Linked DNA regions of Homo sapiens: regions 1 and 3 are each linked to region 2. The links are contacts of gene promoters, found by promoter capture Hi-C in human tissues and cell types (Jung and others, 2019). All regions are on one chromosome and are shown on one strand. The core of a region is centred on a gene start or on the middle of the fragment in contact, and the rest is flanking DNA. Distances in the headings are between cores, read along the strand shown. Region 1 has its middle 50 kb from the start of KCNIP4. Region 2 holds the start of KCNIP4 (potassium voltage-gated channel interacting protein 4). Region 3 overlaps KCNIP4 (potassium voltage-gated channel interacting protein 4).

Evidence for each region. Contacts are between HindIII fragments. The study calls those that stand out against the background at their distance.
Region 1: a contact is called between a fragment that was not itself captured here and the fragment with the promoter of KCNIP4 in region 2, in 4 of the 25 tissues and cell types used here (dorsolateral prefrontal cortex, liver, pancreas and 1 more).
Region 3: a contact is called between a fragment that was not itself captured here and the fragment with the promoter of KCNIP4 in region 2, in 3 of the 25 tissues and cell types used here (aorta, dorsolateral prefrontal cortex and mesendoderm cells).

What each region holds. Positions count from the first base shown.
Region 1 is chr4:21,997,580-22,000,279 of GRCh38, reverse strand. No RefSeq gene overlaps it. Among named protein-coding and RNA genes, the nearest start is that of KCNIP4, 50 kb to the right of the region's middle. The HindIII fragment of the contact is 4,171 bases long and covers 1-2,700 here.
Region 2 is chr4:21,947,372-21,950,071 of GRCh38, reverse strand. It overlaps KCNIP4 (potassium voltage-gated channel interacting protein 4), which reads left to right and starts at 1,300. Exons shown (of 9, transcript NM_025221.6): 1 at 1,300-1,501. The coding sequence starts at 1,441. RefSeq lists enhancers at 352-852, 853-1,353. The HindIII fragment of the contact is 8,414 bases long and covers 1-2,700 here.
Region 3 is chr4:21,905,443-21,908,142 of GRCh38, reverse strand. The region is part of intron 1 of KCNIP4 (potassium voltage-gated channel interacting protein 4); the gene reads left to right. Among named protein-coding and RNA genes, the nearest start is that of KCNIP4, 42 kb to the left of the region's middle. The HindIII fragment of the contact is 3,286 bases long and covers 1-2,700 here.

The DNA.
Region 1 (2,700 bases), core at 131-2,630, 50 kb before region 2:
GCTGGCCTCATAAAATGAGTTAGGGAGGATTCCCTCTTTTACTATTGATTGGAATAGTTTCAGAAGAAATGGTACATGCTCCTCTTGTACCTCTGGTATAATTTGGCTATGAATCCGTCTGGTCCTGGACTTTTTTTGGTTGGTAAGCTATTAATTATTGCCTCAATTTCATAGCCTGTTATTGCGCTATTCAGGGATTCAACTTCTTCTTGGTTTAGTCTTGGGAGGGTGTATGTTCCAGGAATTGCTTCTAGATTTTCTAGTTTATTTGCATAGAGGTGTTTGTAGTATTCTCTGATGGTAGTTTGTATTTCTGTGGGATCGGTGGTGATATCCCCTTTATCATTTTTTATTGCGTCTATTTGATTCTCCTCTCTTTTCTTCTTTATTAGTCTTGCTAGCAGTCTATCAATTTTGTTGATCCTTTCAAAAAACCAGCTCCTGGATTCACTGATTTTTTTGAAGGGTTTTTTGTGTCTCTATCTCCTTCAGTTCTGCTCTGATCTTAGTTATTTCTTGCCTTCTGCTAGCTTTTGAATGTGTTTGCTCTTGCTTCTCTAGTTCTTTTAATTGTGATGTTAGGGTGTCAATTTTAGATCTTCCCTGCTTTCTCTTGTGGGCATTTAGTGCTATAAATTTCCCTCTACACACTGCTTTATATGTGTCCCAGCGATTCTGGTATGTTGTGTGTTTGTTGTCATTGGTTTCAAAGAACATCTTTATTTCTGCCTTCATTTCATTATGTACTTAGTAGTCATTCAGGAGCAGGTTTTTCAGTTTCCATGTAGTTGAGCGGTTTTGAGTGCGTTTCTTAATCCTGAGTTCTAGTTTGATTGCACTGTGGTCTGAGAGACAGTTTGTTATAATTTCTGTTCTTTTGCATTTGGTGAGGAGTGCTTTACTTCCAACTATGTGGTCAATTTTGGAATTAGTGTGATGTGGTGCTGAGAACAATGTATATTCTGTTGACTTGGGGTGGAGAGTTCTGTAGATGTCTATTAGGTCCACTTGGTGCAGAGCTGAGTTAAATTCCTGGATATCCTTGTTAACTTTCTGTCTTGTTGATATGTCTAATGTTGACAGTGGGGTGTTAAAGTCTCCCGTCATTATTGTGTGGGAGTCTAAGTCTCTTTGTAGGTGTCTAAGGACTTGCTTTATGAATCTGGGAGCTCCTGTATTGGGTGCATATATATTTAGGATAGTTAGCTCTTCTTGTTGAATTGATACTTTTACCATTATGTAGCAGCCTTCTTTTTCTCTTTTGATCTTTGTTGGTTTAAAATCTATTTCATCAGAGACTAGGATTGCAAACCCTACCTTTTTTTGTTTTCCATTGTCTTGGTTGATATTCCTCCATCCCTTTATTTTGAGCCTATTTGTGTCTCTGCACGTGAGATGGGTCTCCTGAATACAGCACACTGATGCGTCTTGACTCTTTATCCAATTTGCCAGTCTGTGTCTTTTAATTGGAGCATTTAGCCCATTTACATTTAAGGTTAATATTGTTATGTGTGAATTTGATCCTGTCATTATGATGTTAGCTGGTTATTTTGTTCGTTAGTTGATGCAATGTCTTCCTAGCATCAATGGTCTTTACAATTTGGCATGTTTTTGCAGTGGCCAGTACCGGTTGTTCCTTTCCATGTTTAGTGCTTCCTTCAGGAGCTCTTTGAGGGCAGGCCTGGTGGTGACAAAATCTCTCAGCATTTGCTTCTCTGTAAAGGATTTTATTTCACCTTCACTTGTGAAGCTTAGTTTGGCTGGATATGAAATTCTTGGTTGAAAATTCTTTCCTTTAAGAATGTTGAATATTGGCCCTCACTGTCTTCTGGCTTGTAGAGTTTCTGCTGAGATATCCGCTGTTAGTCTGATGGGCTTCCCTTTGTGGGTAATCCGACCTTTCTCTCTGGCTGCCCTTAATATTTTTTCCTTCATTTCAACCTTAGTGAATCTGACAATTATGTGTCTTGGAGTTGCTCTTCTCGAGGAGTATCTTTGAGGTGTTCTCTGAATTTCCTGAATTTGAATGTTGGCCTGCCTTGCTAGGTTGGGGAAGTTCTCCTGGATAATATCCTGCAGAGTGTTTTCCAACTTGGTTCCATTCTCCCTGTCACTTTCAGGTACACCAATCAGATGTAGATTTGGTCTTTTCACTTAGTCCCATATTTCTTGGAGGCTTTGTTCATTTCTTTTTACTCTTTTTTCTCTAAACTTCTCTTCTCGCTTCATTTCATTCATTTGATCTTCAATCACTGATACCCTTTCCTCCAGTTGGTCAAATCAGCTACTGAAGCTTGTGCATTCATCATGTAGTTCTCATGCCATGTTTTTCAGCTCCTTCAGGTCATTTAAGGACTTCTCTACATTGGTTATTCTAGTTAGCCATTCATCTAATCTTTTTTCAAGGTTTTTAGCTTCTTTGTGATGGGTTCCAACTTCCTCCTTTAGCTCAGAGAAGTTTGATCGTCTGAAGCCTTCTTCTCTCAACTCCTCAAAGTCATTCTCCATCCAGCTTTGTTCCATTGGTGGTGAGGAGCTGCGTTCCTTTGGAGGAGGAGAGGCGCTGTGATTTTTAGAATTTTCAGCTTTTCTGCTCTGTTTTTTCCCCATCTTTGTGGTTTTATCTACCTTTGGTCTTTGATGATGGTGATGTACAGATGGGGTTTTGGTGTGGATGTCCTTTTTGTTTGTTAGTTTTCC
Region 2 (2,700 bases), core at 51-2,550:
GGCTCTCAAGAAATATACAAATACATGCTACAAGGGCTCAAAGGACTAAGTAAATCGCTCGTGCGTTTGGGGGTGGGGAGAAGGGCAATAAGGTGTCAATTGAGACCTACTTGGAGAAAGGGGGAAGATTTCACTTGGTGACAGTGTGTATAAATAATCCAGCAGCCATAGGGAAGGCAAATAGTTTCACAAACACTTAGAAATGGCTTCCACCCAAGTCATGGCCAACTGACCTTGCAGCTGAGAGTGAGAGGGAATTTTAATTCAGTTTGCCTGGAGAACGGGTCAACTTGACCTTTCTTCTGAAAAGAGAGGCTTCATGCACTTGACTCTTGGGGACACAGAAATCTGCATTTTAATTTTGACTTCTCAAACAGTAACCATGGCCACAAGTGGTCTATTGGTTTCTCTTTACCTTCCCAACTATTCCCGGCCTTACTGTGCTTTAGAAGGGCAAATGACCTTGCGGGTGGTGAGCGATACCTCCTGGTTGACCTGCCTGGGAGATCTCAAATGAAACCCCCCACATGGATGCTTCTCCAAAATGCCACCAGTCTATGCCACCCCCTCTCTCCAAGGTGGTATTCTGCACCTCGGCCCTGCGATGTTCACCTGGAGTCTAGAGCCAGTGTTTCCCCACACTTAGCCGAGTCGCATGACCGGTTCTAGCTTCAATGGGGGAAAGTTTCCCGTCTAGGAGTTCTGGCGCTCTGCCCGGCTCCGGAGAAGGGCATCTCCTTGCGCTTCCTCTCTGGTGTCCTTCGAACTCAGCCTAACTTTGTGCAGCAGTATTTCCAGTCTAGCTGTCCAAGTTGGAGCCCCTGGGGGACGCAGCGGCGCGTTGAGAAGGCGCGGCGCCTTCGAGCCCCTCCCCAGAGCAGGCGCTGCTCGCAGTGACAAGGGGTCCTAGAGGCGCCCGCTGAGAGCCGCTGGCAACTCCCGGGGGTGTCCTGCCCAGCCCGAAGTCACCTCGGGTCTCTTTCGGGTCCATCTACTCTGTCGCCAGAGGCACCGTGCCACCCGCGGCGCTTTCCTCTCCCCGCACCCCGCCCCCCGCATCCCCAGTCCGGTGACTTGGCAGCAGGTGGCAGGGGCGGCGCTCACGAGGGCGAGGGGCTGGGGTCCCCGCACTCGAGCCGCCCGTGCAGCCCGCCCGCTTCCAGCCGCCGGCGCGAAGCTGCCGGCGCCTCGGCCTCCCCCGCCACCCCGCGCGCCCCCGCCGCCAAGGGCCGCGCAGCGCCCCCGGCGCCCCCCGCCGGCCTCCGCCCGCACCTGCAGCCCGCTCCGCGCGCCCTGCCCGCAGCCGCCGCCGAAGCTCTCGCTCCCAGCGCCACGGACGCCCCCGGGCCGAGCGGCGGTGCGCTCCCGTGCAGACCCGTGGACAGACGCCCCTGGCCGGTGGACTCTCGAGTCTCGCTTCTGCACCCTGCGTCCCTAGACATGAATGTGAGGAGGGTGGAAAGCATTTCGGCTCAGCTGGAGGAGGCCAGCTCTACAGGCGGTAGGATGCAATAAGCTTGCGAGCGGGCGCCCGCTTCCGCCCTCCTTCCCTCGCGAGCCAAGACGGCTGCCCCTTCCCTTCCTCGGCTGGGGACGCTTGTTGCCTTCGCTGCATGAGACACAGTCACCTGGCGGGACTGGGAAGGGGAGGTGGGAGCGGCAGGAATGGGGTGCAAAGGAGAGGGGGGTGCATGCAAGATCCAGGTCGGGGAAGAAAAGATGTTTGAAGTGTGTTTGAAACTCGCCGGTGGCAGGGTCCCCTGCGATCCTGTGCGTACTTTTGCCTTCTCTGAAAATTTCCGAGGTTGTTTATGCATCTGCCAGATGACTCCAGACCGCACGCTTCCTTCCCCTAACACCTGGGGATTAATGAGCTGAAATAGTATTGATCCTCGCCTTCCACTTTTCCTTCATGCCCCCACACGTTTCTTCATTACAACTGTATTTTTGTCCCCTGGTAATATACTGGCGGCATCTTGCCCATGTCAGATTCTAAAGCAGGAGCGTATGGCTTGTTTTATGGCTAGCTTCAGTTTAGTGTGTTCAGAGAAAATGGTCCTCAGTGACACTTGCAAATAATTTATATACAGTACAGCCTTGTTAAGGTATCGGGCACTGTGTTAGGAGCTTGGCTTTCAGAGAAACGTGCGTTCTGCGAAAGCAGGGAGAAATGTTTTGCTGTTTGGTGGGATCCATAGAGAAATAGGAGACGATGCCCTTCCACAAAGCGTCTTGGGTTGCATCGATTTGTTATTAGGTGGTTTTGATGTGTACAGAGTATTTTACAGGAGCCGGAAAGAGAATGGAAGTGATTTTGGGGCACATGAGAGTGATAAAGGGCTGGACCTCTCCCTGATTACATAAGCTAAGGGGTCACATATGGCTATAGCATAGTTTGGGTTTAGAGGGTGAAAAACTTGGACTCGAGGGCTGTAAACTTGCAAGCAAAGAGGTGTTTCCACTTGCTGCCTTCTTTAGTACTCAGGGAAATGGAGTCACCTCAACAACTTGAGTCAATCATTCGAATTTATGGCCATGAGAAATGGAAATGGACACCCTCCCTTTCTTTTCCTCACTCCAATAGTTAAGGTCATCGTAACCGGGAGGACACTAGTCTCACTTGAATATGAAATTTTAAAGAGAACAGTCTTAATCCTTTTGGACTGGAAAAAATAATATGAACATCACCTGTAAAGCCCC
Region 3 (2,700 bases), core at 49-2,548, 42 kb after region 2:
AGAGGCATTAAAGTGATAGAATTGTGAACTTTGCTTGGAATTCTATTTATTTTTATTATTTTTTATTACAGGCAGAGACTTTTGGAGCAGGAAGGGGCCACAGAGAGAGTAACCTCCCATTTAATGAACAAAAAAAGTTTGCACAAGAGTTAAAATGGTTGACGTAAAGTCCCACACAGTGAATCCAATGTGTTTTTGCCGATTCTTCAACTGTATACCAGATACAATTTAAACTATGTCTTTAAAAATTCTTTTGTTATTATTTTTGGTATTTTTTCTATCATAAACTTGCTTCCTTATTTCCACTGTGAGTATGAAGTTGGGGAGTTAACATTTATAAAACATTATTATTGTGTACTAAGGCAAGCTTTACTCTAAAGAGCAGATGCTTACTTCATACACATGGAAAAAATATTTAAAAATCTGCTTATGTCAAGGGTTGGTGAGGATTGGGGAAACAGGAACACAGAAACACTACTGATTGCAGTGTAATTTATTGAATTCGTTTCAAAGGCAATTGACATCATAAAGCTGAAGAGACACATTCCCCATAAAGTTCATTTCTAAATAAAAATCCTGGAGTTATTTTTACAATTGTGCATAAGAGACGTATATAAGAAAGTACATAATAGTACTTGTCTTCCTCTGTTTTCTGTTTCTGTAACAGAATACCTGAGGCTGGATAATTTGTAGCAATAAAAAGGTTTATTTTGGCTAGTAGTTCTGGAGGCTAGAAAGTCCAAGAACATGGTGGCAGCTTCTGGTGAAGGCTTTCGTACTGCCTCATAACATGGTGGAAAAGCGGAAGACCAAGCTAGTGTGTGTGAAAGAGACAACGTGTGAGGGGCGGCCTTGCTTTATAGCAACCCACTCTTTTCAGTAACGGAGTTAGTCCTGCAAGAGCGAGAACTCATTCACTTACTGCTCTGAGAATTAACCCAGTCCCTCAAGAGTGACATTAATTCCTCTTAATGCCCTAATCACCTCTCAACAACCCACCAGCCAACATTGCCACTCCAAGAACCCCATTTCCAGCACGTGAATTGTGGGGGACACACTCAAAGTATAGCAGTAGTCTTCATCATAATGAGAATGAGAAATACTTTAGTGTCCATCCATAGGAGAGTAAATAAAGGAATTGTGATATACTAAAACATTGAGAGAAACTAAAGCTTCGTGTATCAAAGTGGATAAATCTTAAAAATATTATAGTGAGCTAGAAAAGCAACTTTTAGAAGCTTACATAAAAATATACCTTTTATGTAAAATGTAACATATTCTAAATGATACTGTTTTGCTTTGGATGCATACCTTATTGATGTATGTAAAAAGATGTACACAGGCTTGGTAAATATCACATTTAGATGTTATCAGGGCAGGGTATGCAGATAGCTTTTATAGGTGTGTAAAGATTTTCTTCCTTATGTTGGGCAGTAGATACATGCATTAATTGGTACAGGTTTTGCCTGTTGCAGAAAACTTTTTCTATAAAAGGCCAGAGTATTAATGTCCTGGGACCACTGTAATAAATTACCCTGAACTTTGTGGCTTCTAACAGACAGAAATTTATTCTCTCACAGTTCTGGAAGCCAAAAGTCCAAAATCAAGGTGCCAGCATGGGCTCTGAAGGGCCAGGATCCTCCCTGGCAGGCTGTGGGGGAGAACACTTCCTTGCCTCTTCCAGAGTCTGGTGGCTGCCAACATGTCTTGACATTCCTTGGCTTGTGGCTACATCACGCCAATCTCTGCTTCTATCTTCACGTTCGCTTTTCCTCCTCTGAGTGTGTCTAATCTCCCTCTACCTGTCTTAGACAAGGACACTTTTGCTGTAATTTGGGGCTTACCCAGATACACCAGAATGATCTCACCTCAGGATCCTTAACTTATTTATTACACCTGCAAAGACTCTTCCCAAATAAGGTAACACTCACAAGTTAGAACATAGCAATGACTTTGGGAGTCATTATCACATTACCACAACTAGGTAGTAAATATTTTAGGATTTGTGGGTCATATAGTTTCTGCCACTTAACATTGCCACTGTAGCCTGAAACACTCATAGATGAATGAAACAAATGAATGTAGCTGTGTTTCAATAACACTTTATTTGGAAAAGAGATGAGGGCCTGGATTTGACTGGGAGTGAGTGGCTGCTGAAGTTTGCAGTCCTGTGGTCTATGCAAACAAGTGTTACGTGTGGCAAGTCAGTGGGATCTATTGGGACATTACTGATGGCTCACTACTAATGTCACACTCTAATGCCCATGGGGTGAGTCTGATGCAGTCAACTTACATATAGATGTAAGTTTTGTTTTTATAATACACTTCTAACTTTCAGAGAAAGTCAGGAATCTACTAACAGCATCCTAAATTGTGAACTCATTTATTTGTGACACCTGCACTTTTGAAGCGTACACAGAAGATGTGCACACATGCTGGTCACATGGTAGATTTGGCAGAAGGCTTTTTGAAAGAAAGGAGAGCCCGAAGGAAGTGATAGCCTATGAGTGAGAACATCCGGTGTTTGGTTTTTTGTCCTTGCGATAGTTTGCTGAGAATGATGGTTTCCAGTTTCATCCATGTCCCTACAAAGGACATGAACTCATCATTTTTTATGGCTGCATAGTATTCCATGGTGTATATGTGCCACACCAACATGGCACATGTATACATATGTAACAAACCTGCATGTTGTGCACA